4 separate regions of the Homo sapiens genome follow, and all the other regions are linked to region 2. Evidence: promoter capture Hi-C in 16 types of primary human blood cells and fetal thymus (Javierre and others, 2016). All regions are on one chromosome and are shown on one strand. The core of a region is centred on a gene start or on the middle of the fragment in contact, and the rest is flanking DNA. Distances in the headings are between cores, read along the strand shown.

Region 1 (2,705 bases), core at 167-2,666, 540 kb before region 2:
ACACAGACTAGAAAGCCTGGCCATGTCCCCTTCCACCACTTGATGTCACTGTACTCCCCTGAACCTAAGACCAAAAATCCTAGCACAGTGAGGACGCAAAAATCAAACCTGCAGAAAATGATTCTACAATCTCAGAATAAGCTTGCAGCAAAAGCAAATCAGTGTCTCTGATAAAATACAAAATACTAATGTAAAGAATTGAAAACCAGGTAAGATACAAGTTCAAAATATTTGAGGAAATCCCTTTTTTAGTTTGAAAATTCAAGAGAACATTTTTCATACAAAATATCTCAGTGTAATGAAAATATACTTGCCATTTCAAATGGACTCACCAAGTAAGAAAATAAATTAAATCAAGTTCTAAGAGTCTAATTCATTCATTTAAAGGATTTCTAATATATTATTCTTTGATCAAAAGTTAACGGATATACCACCTCTAATTTTCTGCTATAAGTGGAGAATATATCCTCATTATACCACATATTCATGAGATCTTAATATACATTGGGATTAAAACATCTCAGATTAAAAATATGTGAAAATATTTGAATGTCTGTTTATTAATATCTATATCCTGGCTAGAAAGCAAAATTCTGAAAAATTATATATTCAGATAAGAAGGGGTTGAATACATGAAGTTTCACTGTGGTTATATTAGCTGGAATGAAGAATATTTGTTTTACCTGAATATGTACTAGTTTATGGAGTATAAAATACTACAATTAAATTGTTGATGGATCTTTTGACACACCAATATGAAACACATGAATGTTTAAACGTGTTTATAATAAAGCATGTTGTCCCATTATATCAATGTACATTTCAAAGACATTAGAAATAGACCAGCATCTGTATTATATTACAGCACACAAGGGTTCTGGAGAGCTGTTTTCACTTGGGGGTTAGCTTCTATTCATTTACTTGATCTTTTACAGAAAGCAGGATGTAAAATTATTCCAATATGTATCTGCTCTATGGAACATGTGCTAGTGGAAAGCTTTGTTCTGCATTATGTTAGCACAAATCATAGTAAGCAGATCCAAAGAACTTTTTCTTCCTGGGGGAAAAAGACACTGGAAACACTCAGCAATCTTTAGTACTTTTCTATGTATATTTGTTTGTGTATGGGTGTGTTTACTGATTTTTTGGAAAAGCATTACATACTATTGTAGAACATTTGGAAAAGATTGAAAAAATATAAAGCAGAGAGAGAAAATCACCCAATTCCACCAATAAAGATGACATTATTCACATTTTTGTGTTTTTATCCTTTTCTGTTTCTATGACTTCCTTTATAATAGTGCAAAAGATAAGACTTATTTGTGTCCACAGTCTTCATACTGTAAACAGGATACCATGACTTGATTCTTAAGCGTATATCAGATGCGAGTAGTATTTCTTTTCTAAGGTAGAATTTTAGTTCAATGTGGACACACCTTCCTCAAGAAACTGCATAAAACCTGTCATACTGTTATACAGTAGAGAGAGTTTCATGAATTAGAAAATGTGGGAAAAAGAATCTTTGCAAGCACTACTGACCTCGTCATCGTCGGCATCATACTGGGCATAGTGCTGTTCCAGCAGCTCTCTCTGGCGCCTCTCCTGTTCCAGTGTCTGGCTTATCAACTGGGCAACCTCGCTCACTTGTCCTGGTTTTTCCCGCCCAATAACAAATCTGTGGAAAGGTTAACAAAGACTAATATTTAAGACTCTCCAACAAAAAGGAGTTTTAAGAAAAGTAAACAGGTTTGATCTCAGCAGGGTCCATCAAGCCTCAAGAAAGTAATATCACCTACGTACTTCAAAATGGTTTTCTTGGGTGAGAAGAAAGCTTAGATGTGCAATTAAAGTGATTTTTAGGGACACAGCTCATAAAGGAAAAGAAGGGGGAAAAAAGTAAAGGACCATAAAAATTATCATTTTAAGAGAAGATGTAATATACGTAACCCATTCTGCAGTACTTTACACATTTTTGATGCCATACAAAATAGAAGCAAGCTCATAATTTCCTGTACCATTGAACTAAAGAAGCATTTGTGTAACTATAACAAAAATTACTTCAAAAACATTTTGAGGGCTGGGCTCAGTGGCTCAAGCCTATAATCCCAACACTTTGGGAGGCAAAGGTGGGTGGATCACCTGAGGCCCGGAGTTCGAGAGCAGCCTGGCCAAGAAGGCAAAATCCCGTCTCTACTAAAAATACAAAAATTAGCCGGGCGTGGTGGCGCGCACCTGTAGTCCCAGCTACTCTGGAGGCTGAGGCAGGAGAATCGTTTGAATCCGAGAGGCGGAGGTTGCAGTGAGCCAAGACCGCGCCACTGCACTCCAGCCTGGGTGACAGAGACTCTGTCTCAAACCAACAACAACAACAACAACAAACATTTTGACGCATAGCATAACTCAGGTGGCTAAATATATAACTTTGAAATAAGAGAAAAGGAAAACTTAAGTGTTTTTTGTTTTTAAAATGAAAAACTGTAATAACAAGAGGTAGTGAATTAATTCACTTCCTTTGGGGGGAAAGATAGTATGAGAAGGGGTGTGATTCAATAAATAAGGGAGGAAAGGAAATATTTGTTATTAATGCCTATAAAAAAAGCCTAAAGAGAAAAACAAGTAAGATATTTCCTTATTGCAAGCTACAGTCACTTATGGTATATTGTTGCCAACATAATGTGTTGTGCTCAACAATTTAATATTCATTT
Region 2 (2,742 bases), core at 181-2,680:
TTCCACTCCAATCAGTGCCCCTCCACTCCACTGCTATAGCGGGAATGGTGTGGGCAGAATGTTAAACACTAATTTTTGCCCGGGGCTCCATTTTGTCTACCAGCACCATCATGCGAGAACCGTCCTGCAGAAAAATAGAGTGGGAGCCATTCCAAAAGGTGAAAGGGTGGGGTCCTGCTCCAAGAAAACAGAGGAATTGTACTCCGCAGCTCATGTCCCACTACGGCTGCTTTATTTGTAGCGCAAACGGTCTGCAGCTCCTGTACCTCTGCAGCTCTTACCACTTTGTAGTGCATCTTAGGTGTGAATTGTTCCGCAGCTCATGTACCTCTGCAGTTCATGTGCCTCGCAGCGCAATGAAGCGCTGTTGTCGGGCTGGCTAATCGCATCGTTTTTGTAGCGTTTTTTGTAGTGCTACTCTTCTGCAGCTCAGATTTTGCAGCGCATGTAAAGCGCAATTCAGTTTTCTGTCTGCAGCTCCTATATCGCTGCTCCTCGTTCTGGATTGTAGCGCCACTGAAGCGCCCATCCGTCAGTTTGTGGCACATAAAGCGCCCATCAGTTTATAGCGCAATGAAGCGCCAGTTGTAGCTCCCATCAGTTTGTCGCCCGCGTGAAGCGTGCTTGTAGCGCATCTGAAGCGCCAGTTTGTAGCGCATTTGAAGCGCTTATCTGTTTGTAAAGCATGGCACTTGGTAGCGCATTTGAAGAGCAAATTGCAAATCGATCTATAGCTCCTGACCGTCTGCAGCTCATCACTGTCCGCAGCTCATCTCTGTCTACAGCCCGTATCTGGACTTGGTCCTGGAAACCCAAGCCTTTAAGGCTTGGTTTCCCCATTTGTTTTGGGGTACAGCCAGTGAAGGCGTGACAAGTTTTGCGTGGAGACATTCTGGGGTGCTACTCCATCTCCCGCAGCTCCCGATAAGCACGGGGAATGAACGTGATCTTTAAAAAAAAAACGTCCTCACCGCATACTCACCACGCGAGGACTCCTCTGCGAAGACAGGAAGGATGGGGTCCCACACCTGAGCCAGGCGCGGTCTCCACTGGGTGCTCCGCAGCCCGGAGTGGCTCCGGACGACAGCCCGCTCAGCGGACCTTTCGCCAGGCTCGGTGGACCTTCTCCGCTGTTCTCCTCAGGGCGCAGTCAGGTTTCTTCGACACACACCAACCGAAGTTGAAGCGCGTGTACCAGGAGCGCAGACTGTGAGCCTTATATAGGTTGCACCGAGGAGGGGGGCGCCAAATCCCAGCGTGCTCCGCGGGCTAGGGGGTGGAGGGGGGTGCGGGGATGGGGGATGGGGGTGGGGGCGGTGGCCACGCTGCAGTGGCCCGCCGCTAGAGGGAGTACGGGATTACCGAGGGGGTGCGGGATGCTGATGCTGAACTGGCCAAGCTGGGAGGGAAGAAGAAAGGGAGGGGAGGGGAGAATCGAGGACGGACGGCCTAGCCAGGCCAAGAATGCAATTGCCCCGGTGGTGGGAGCTGGGAGACCCCTGTGCTTGGACGGGACAGGGTCGGGGGACACGCAGGATGAGCCCCGCGACCACTGGCACATTCTTGCTGACAGGTTAGTGGCCTGCGCGCGACGTGGAGGTCCCGGGGCCAACAGGCCGCCGCCTCCCCCTCCCCCGCTCGGGTTCCGGGCGCCTGAGCGCGCCCTTTGGGCACCAGCCTCTCTTTCTGTCCCGGACCCCACCGTACCCCTCCTTCAGTACACCCTGTACCCCATTTCCCCGGCCCAGCTTCTCTCTCCCCAGGCTTGACCCCTGGCCTTTTTTTCCTCTCCGCGCCCCCGCGGGCCCCTCCCTGCTCTGCGGGCGCAGAAATTCCATCTCCAATTCCTGTTCCCAACATCCCCCTCCCCGCCCAGCCCCAGGGTAGTCCTCTCCCGATCCCTGTAGCAAAGAGCTGGGGGTCGTTGCCTGTTTTTCTGGGGGGCCCGTTTCCCCGCGATTGGGCTCTGCGACCGCGATGCGAGCCAAAGGAAATGGGTGTCAAGCTGCGTCCCCGCTACACAAACACATCTTTTTTCCTTTTCTTGATAGTGGTAGAGAACACAAAAATGTGACATTTAAAACACCGAATTTCCCCCTCTTGCTAAGTGCATTTCTCGGTGACGGAAATCTCGGTTTTCTTCGGTTTTACGGAGCAGGGAAGCGGAATCATGAAATGCTGGGAGCTAAACAGGGCGTTCAGGTCAGGGTTAACCCCGGCTGGAGGCCAGAGATGCTGCCGTACCGAGTGCGCTATTTCCAGAAACCAAAACCAATTTAAAACAGCTGTGGATGCTTCCAGTGTGTTTGGCGGGCTTTGAAGGCTCCCAGCTACCGACTTTTGGTGGCGATTACGAGGTTTACACAGAGACCTTGCTTCCCTTGCAACGTTACATTTTCCTAAATCTTGTAGGGTGAATGAATGCGTTTAGTCACGGCAACCGCACGTTTAATCCTTTCCAGCGGGTTGCCGAGATTCGGCCACAAATATTTGCGTGCATTTGTACTATGAACATATATATTTTATGTCAGGGAAAATTGCAGTGGCTGATAAGACGCTAAAATTCTGATGAGGAAGGATGCTAAATAAAACCTTAACGCGGATTCCCATCTAAGCGCCTCAGTGTCAGGTGCTTGGGAAACTGACAATCTGTTGATGATCTTAGTAAAACAAGTTTAAGTTAAAAGGGAAAACCAAATTGTCTACAGCTGAGTTAGGTTTCTGAAACACAGATGAAACGCT
Region 3 (2,733 bases), core at 115-2,614, 590 kb before region 2:
CTTTACATATAGGAAAGCAGAATGAATTGTGTAAATTCACATTATTCAGAATGGACAAGATTTTCTTAGTACACATGAGGCCTAAAATTAAAAATATGCGATTATTTTAATTCTGTATGTACATTAAGAGAATTTCTACAAATCCATCACTTTTGACAAGAAAAGCATCAAAATACACTAACTGAACCCTTTTTGTTTTATATAGTATGGACCTGTGTCTAGTGAGCTTACCTTGGAAGGCTATTAGGTGCCAAAGCCAGGTTTTAGAAATCCCAGCCCATGGTTCTTTCCACTAATACTAAATTTCTTACATTTGTAGGCCCCTTTATTTTTAATCATCTCCCTTTATCATTGCAAATGACTGGGGGAGGCAGGGCAGGTGTTGTGAACCTCATGGTTCAGATGAGGAAAGAGGCTCAGGGAAGTCACACACCTTTTCAAGTTCCCACTAGAAACAGGTGATGGAGCGGAAACAAAACCAGATTTGACTCTTCCTACCTCTGTTCCTCCCTTAACCATGTATCTAACTGAACCAGTTGCTTTGGGATATATTTTTCATTTAATCTTCCCCCAAACCCCAAGCCATATGTCATCATCATAACCTCTCAGATGAGAAGTTATTACTCCAACTGGAAACCATGGATCACTTCTGGTAGTCTCTGAGCATTCTGACAGTGAATGCAAAATGGTGCTCAATCAGCTGCTGTTATTATTAATGAAGCTTAGAAAGCAGACCTCCACCTCCCTTAATAATCAATTGGCCTTTAGTGACTGAGACTACGTGCTAGGTACTATGCTAATCACTGAGGATACATGAACATGACATAGAATCTACTTTCAAGATACTTCAGGGAGATTAATAAAAACACCTTGTAAGAATTCTCCAGATCACCCTGTGAGAAAGGTCAGAGGCAACCTGCTGCTGGATGGCTTGTTTAGTCTTTTGTTCCTATAGCCAGATCAGATGTCATGTGTCTTTGGCCTGTTTGTCCAGACGTGGACCCTACTTTCCAAGCAAAGTGAGCAAGATGGACCCAAGTTATCTCCATTTCATGAGGAAAAGAAAATTGCTTTTCACAGGGGTGAAGGACCTCGACAAATGAAGCATAGTTGGTAAAAGGTTGAGTTTTCTTATTCTAGAGCAGTTCCCTTTCCACATGTTTAAGAGATTTATGTCAAGAATCAATAACCTTTTCAAAGTACAGGTCCAAGAGTTTGCAAGAATGGTCAGGCACGCTGACTGCAGGGATAGAAGGTTAACAGGGCTGGTTAATAGAAATAGAGCCTGAGATGCCTGTTGGAGTTTTTGGGCTTCAGAGAAGCTAGGTTTGGAGAAAAGAGTTGGGATTAGGAGGGCATAAATAAAAAGAAAAGGTTAAGGACTGCAGGTAAAAGTCTTTTAACTTACAAGACCATCATTTTCATCTCTTCAGTCATCTTTAATATGAAAGCCATAGATATGCACCTCAGGATTTCAGCACAAATAAACATACACATTCCTATGAGAACAGGAGCTTTCATTTAACATTCTGAAGGTGTACCTGCTGTGTATAATTTTTTTTTCAAAAAGATGAATACAGAACATGCACTCATATTACCGGATCGATATAATCCAAATATAACTGTGCTAGAAATAGAAACATCCTTTACACAGAAACTTAAATAGTGAGACTGAACTTTTGCCCTCTCTCTACTTATCCTGTGAGAGCATGGAAACATTTTTCTTTAAAAAGTGAAAAATATCTTTGCAGGAAATGTTTTAAGAGAGCTCTAGTTCTAGAAATATTACAATCAGATAAGGGCAACATTTTCTGCTGTTGCTTTACAAAAGCAAATCAATAACTAATATTTGCATAGAACTTTATAAAGTGCTTTCTAGATTGGGATCTAAATTTTTAGTTATCTTTGTGAGTATTTGAGTGATGTATGTCTTACCTACAACAATATAGCTTCACAAAAGAAATCAAAGCTGTTTTTAACTACATTTTGGTGTTAAGATGAAGCTTTGCCATATTTCTTTGTAATTTCTGCTGAAAAGTTTACATATGGTATCTATCCAGTATTAACGAAAGTGTTTTACTTAGGGAATCATGTATGCAAAATGAACTAAAACTGGCTGACTGAACAATATCACAATCTAATCTGAATGGTAACACTAATGGCAGCATATGTAGCATTGGGTGAGATTCTCTAACAAGGTCACTCCCTAAGTAGGTACTCATAAACTTGTTATTAATGATGCTGCTGCTGGATGTAGTTGATGGCCTGTAATTACAGCTCTTTTTTAAATAAGTAACTGTTTGCTATTAAGTAGGCAGCAATTTATAGCTTCCCTACATGGTAGTGGAAACTTCCATAAAGATAACTTAATGTTATTATCCCATGCATTTTATAACTTTTCTAGATTCTTTTTCATAGAATTAAATAAATAAAATAAACCAACTTTTAGACTCCATTTTTTCTTCAAGAGAAATGTCGAATTTTTTTAATTGTTGCAATTGCTGTGACTCCTGAGGAGGAATGGCAAGGGAGAAATTGGACAGTCACTTTAAATGGTACCTGGCTAACAGTTCCTGAGCCAGCCTCGCCGTACCTTCCATTAAACTGCCAGTGTAATCACATTAAAAACAAAAAAACTCACAATCAAAAATGAACACCACAACTAAAAACAACAGTTCATAGAATATAAAAGAGTCATGAAGTTGAATTAAGAAAAATCTATCCAAGATCCCC
Region 4 (2,846 bases), core at 327-2,826, 830 kb before region 2:
AACCTTGCTGACTAGGGAATTTCATACCAAAGAGATAAGTATGAAATTCTGCCTGTATCATTTATGAGCAAAAGCTCATACATCTGAAGGAAGATCAAGTTGGTAAAGCCTTTGGAAACAGTTTTATGGACAGTCCTTCGTCTTTCCAGTATGGAAGTAACCAGTGAAAACCAATAGAAGGGACATTTGTGTTTTCTTTAAAGATTTCTTCTGTGCTTGACTTCACTCTAAATACTCAGTGGTTGGCTCATAATTAATGTTATATCACTGACATCCCTTGACTTTCAATGACTTATTGCATTTGGCAGTTAGAAAGTCATTCTTTATGTTTTCTTTATATCGTTTTTATTTTAAAGTGATCATCTGGTAAACGCAATTTTGGCTTACTTGTTTTTGCTTTTAAGACCCATTATCTCCGCCATTCCCAGGGAGGTCTCTCAAATGCCAACCAGCACATTTTAAATGTTTGCTTTACAAAATGTGAGAAAAGTTTCTTTAAATTAATAAAACATGATTTCATCTGCAGATTTTATTATGAAGCTTAAAATAACTTAGAAAAGTAAAGTGAGAGCTCTCTAACTTTAAGAATCATGATTAGGTGCTGGAGAAAGACAGGATCCACAGTTTGAACATGAACTCTGGAGGCTGGCTTCTAAATCTGTTCTCTGCCAAATTGGTAAGAGAAGCTATTCAATGAGATGGGCCCAGTGCTACAGAGGAAAGCAGAAATGAGCTTCCAGACTTATTTGTAATCCAATAGCTTTATTCTGTCTTCCTCACAAAATACACATTTCATATTTGCTTATGAGCTAAACTTTTGATTACTGGTGTGCCCAGTAGATTGTAAATTTGGGAAGCACTATTTAGATTTTAGGTGATTTATTTGCCAGCAGAGTTCTGAGTTCCCTTTTCAAAAATTATACACTGACTTTCATATAGGCTTAGATGGACTATATTTAGGGATAAAATTTAGTTACTTCTTAAATCCTATAAAAATGCTGTATGTTCTAAATAAATAAGAATGGTTTAGAATTGATTGTACTACTTTTCACTTTCTATAGGACTATCAAATGTTGAATATAGAATTTTAGTATTGATTACACAAGGAAATTTAAGAGTAGCATGAGATTCGTTATAGGTTTTGTGCATTGTCTTTCTTATTAAGCCAAAAATAACTGAAACCTGAAGATTCCCACACTTTAAAAGTAAACAGGAATGCTCTGTTTCCTCATCTGGATGCTGGTTACATAGGTTTGTTATTTTGTGAAAAGTAATCAAGCTGCACACTTATTTATGCACTTTTGCGGAGAGCTTTTCAAAAGTGCTTTAAAAAAATCAAAGAGCAGTGTGTAGCAGTTCAACAGCGTCCAAGGTCCAAAACTTCTCCTTTGATTTAATAAAGTCTCACAAACTTTAATCCAGCCACATACCTTTTAAGGCCACACAGAAATGGGTCCTATTCCTTTGAACTATTTAGAAAAGAACTAACTAACCACTGTAGACTGCTCAGCTCCACGCTGTTGCCTGACAATGACTTTATGACTTAAGAAATTGATATAACCACTTAGATCTACTAGCAGCTAGGATTCTATTTGTCATTTCCATTCCTAACTTTCCATTCCTAAGTTTAAAAGGATCGATGATAAGGTTGGAAGCATGTGAAAAAAATTGGAAGAAACTTCTTTTTTTTTTTCTTTTTGAGACGGAGTCTCCCTGTGTCACCCAGGCTGGAGTGCAGTGGCGCCATCTGGGCTCACTGCAAGCTCCGCCTCCCGGGTTCACACCATTCTCCTGTCTCAGCCTCGGGAGTAGCTGGGACTACAGGCGGCCGCCACCGCGCCTGGCTAATTTTTTGTATTTTTAGTAGAAATGGGGTTTCACCGTGTTAGGCAGGATGGTCTCTATCTCCTGACCTCGTGATCAGCCCACCTCGGCCTCTCAAAGTGCTGGGATTACAGGCGTGAGCCACCACTCCCGGCCTGAAGAAACTTTTAAGAAAGATGAAGTTTTAACCTGGGTTTAAGACTAAAGAGACAGGTCCTTGTGCCCATGTGCGTATTAAACAGAGTAGTGGAGAAGTGTGTTTCAAGTGTGTTTCTTTCTACACATGAGTGCAGACACAAATTTCCTGCATAAACCCTAAAAGTAAGACCACAAATTTTACTAGTTCTGTGCAAGCATCCACTTGGCATACATAAGAATGGAACTGTTCTTTTCCTTTTCCAGAGGGTGTAATTTGCTATCTCCCTAATTGAAAGCCACATCCCACAGTCCTAACACTATGAAAACACCTCAATTCGTGGGAATGAAAATTTAGCTCTATGAGGACCATAGGAGTCAGCTCATATTGACAAGAAGAATTTAAAATGTATTTTCTTTTCCTTCAAGGAAGATGACACCGGTGGAAGTAGGAGAACCAACCCCACCTCTCCCCTCCACTTCCCTAGAGCCTGCACCTAAAACTTGGTTTCTTATATCCTCAGAAACTTCCCACAATCTGTGCAACTTGGCCTGCTCAGATGAGAGAAGACAGTCTTTGCAACTCAGGGTCAAATAACTTACCCACTGACTTGAACCTGAGTTATTTCACCCTAGGCACAAATATAAGCTTTTTAAAAACATCTTAAAAATTAGTTTAGCATTCAGACATTCTATCACTGAACAAAATTATAAGATGAAAGCAATCTGATTATATAGTATACAAATTTTCTAACAGACCCCATAAACTTTTTAAAAAATAGATCCCTTCTTTGTCTTCCCATCAAAATATTAATGCCATTAATGCCAAAATATTATAAAGCCCTTGAGTAAAAATCATAAACATAGTAACTAGCCTGAGCTCTTCT

What was found. The method cuts DNA at HindIII sites, captures the fragments that hold promoters and counts their contacts. A CHiCAGO score of 5 or more calls a contact.
Region 1: a contact is called between a fragment that was not itself captured here and the fragment with the promoter of SGCE in region 2, in 2 of 17 cell types (M2 macrophages and M0 macrophages). The highest score is 6.2, in M2 macrophages.
Region 3: a fragment that was not itself captured here is called in contact with the fragment with the promoter of SGCE in region 2 in 2 of 17 cell types (M2 macrophages and M0 macrophages); the score reaches 6.4 in M2 macrophages.
Region 4: a contact is called between a fragment that was not itself captured here and the fragment with the promoter of SGCE in region 2, in 1 of 17 cell types (fetal thymus). The highest score is 6.3, in fetal thymus.

Annotation. Positions count from the first base shown.
Region 1 is chr7:95,197,319-95,200,023 of GRCh38, reverse strand. PPP1R9A (protein phosphatase 1 regulatory subunit 9A) reads right to left here. Exons shown (of 20, transcript NM_001166160.2): 6 at 1,540-1,675. All of the region lies in intron 1 of PPP1R9A-AS1 (PPP1R9A antisense RNA 1), which reads left to right. Among named protein-coding and RNA genes, the nearest start is that of PPP1R9A-AS1, 16 kb to the left of the region's middle. The HindIII fragment of the contact is 834 bases long and covers 1,000-1,833 here.
Region 2 is chr7:94,654,821-94,657,562 of GRCh38, reverse strand. SGCE (sarcoglycan epsilon) reads left to right here and starts at 1,430. Exons shown (of 11, transcript NM_003919.3): 1 at 1,430-1,573. The coding sequence starts at 1,465. It overlaps PEG10 (paternally expressed 10), which reads right to left and starts at 1,238. Exons shown (of 2, transcript NM_001172437.2): 1 at 972-1,238. The coding sequence starts at 976. RefSeq lists enhancers at 1-35, 1,305-2,082. The HindIII fragment of the contact is 19,954 bases long and covers 1-2,742 here.
Region 3 is chr7:95,241,426-95,244,158 of GRCh38, reverse strand. All of the region lies in intron 8 of PPP1R9A (protein phosphatase 1 regulatory subunit 9A), which reads right to left. Among named protein-coding and RNA genes, the nearest start is that of PPP1R9A-AS1, 28 kb to the right of the region's middle. The HindIII fragment of the contact is 1,282 bases long and covers 724-2,005 here.
Region 4 is chr7:95,487,194-95,490,039 of GRCh38, reverse strand. All of the region lies in intron 1 of ASB4 (ankyrin repeat and SOCS box containing 4), which reads right to left. Among named protein-coding and RNA genes, the nearest start is that of ASB4, 2.7 kb to the right of the region's middle. The HindIII fragment of the contact is 2,068 bases long and covers 543-2,610 here.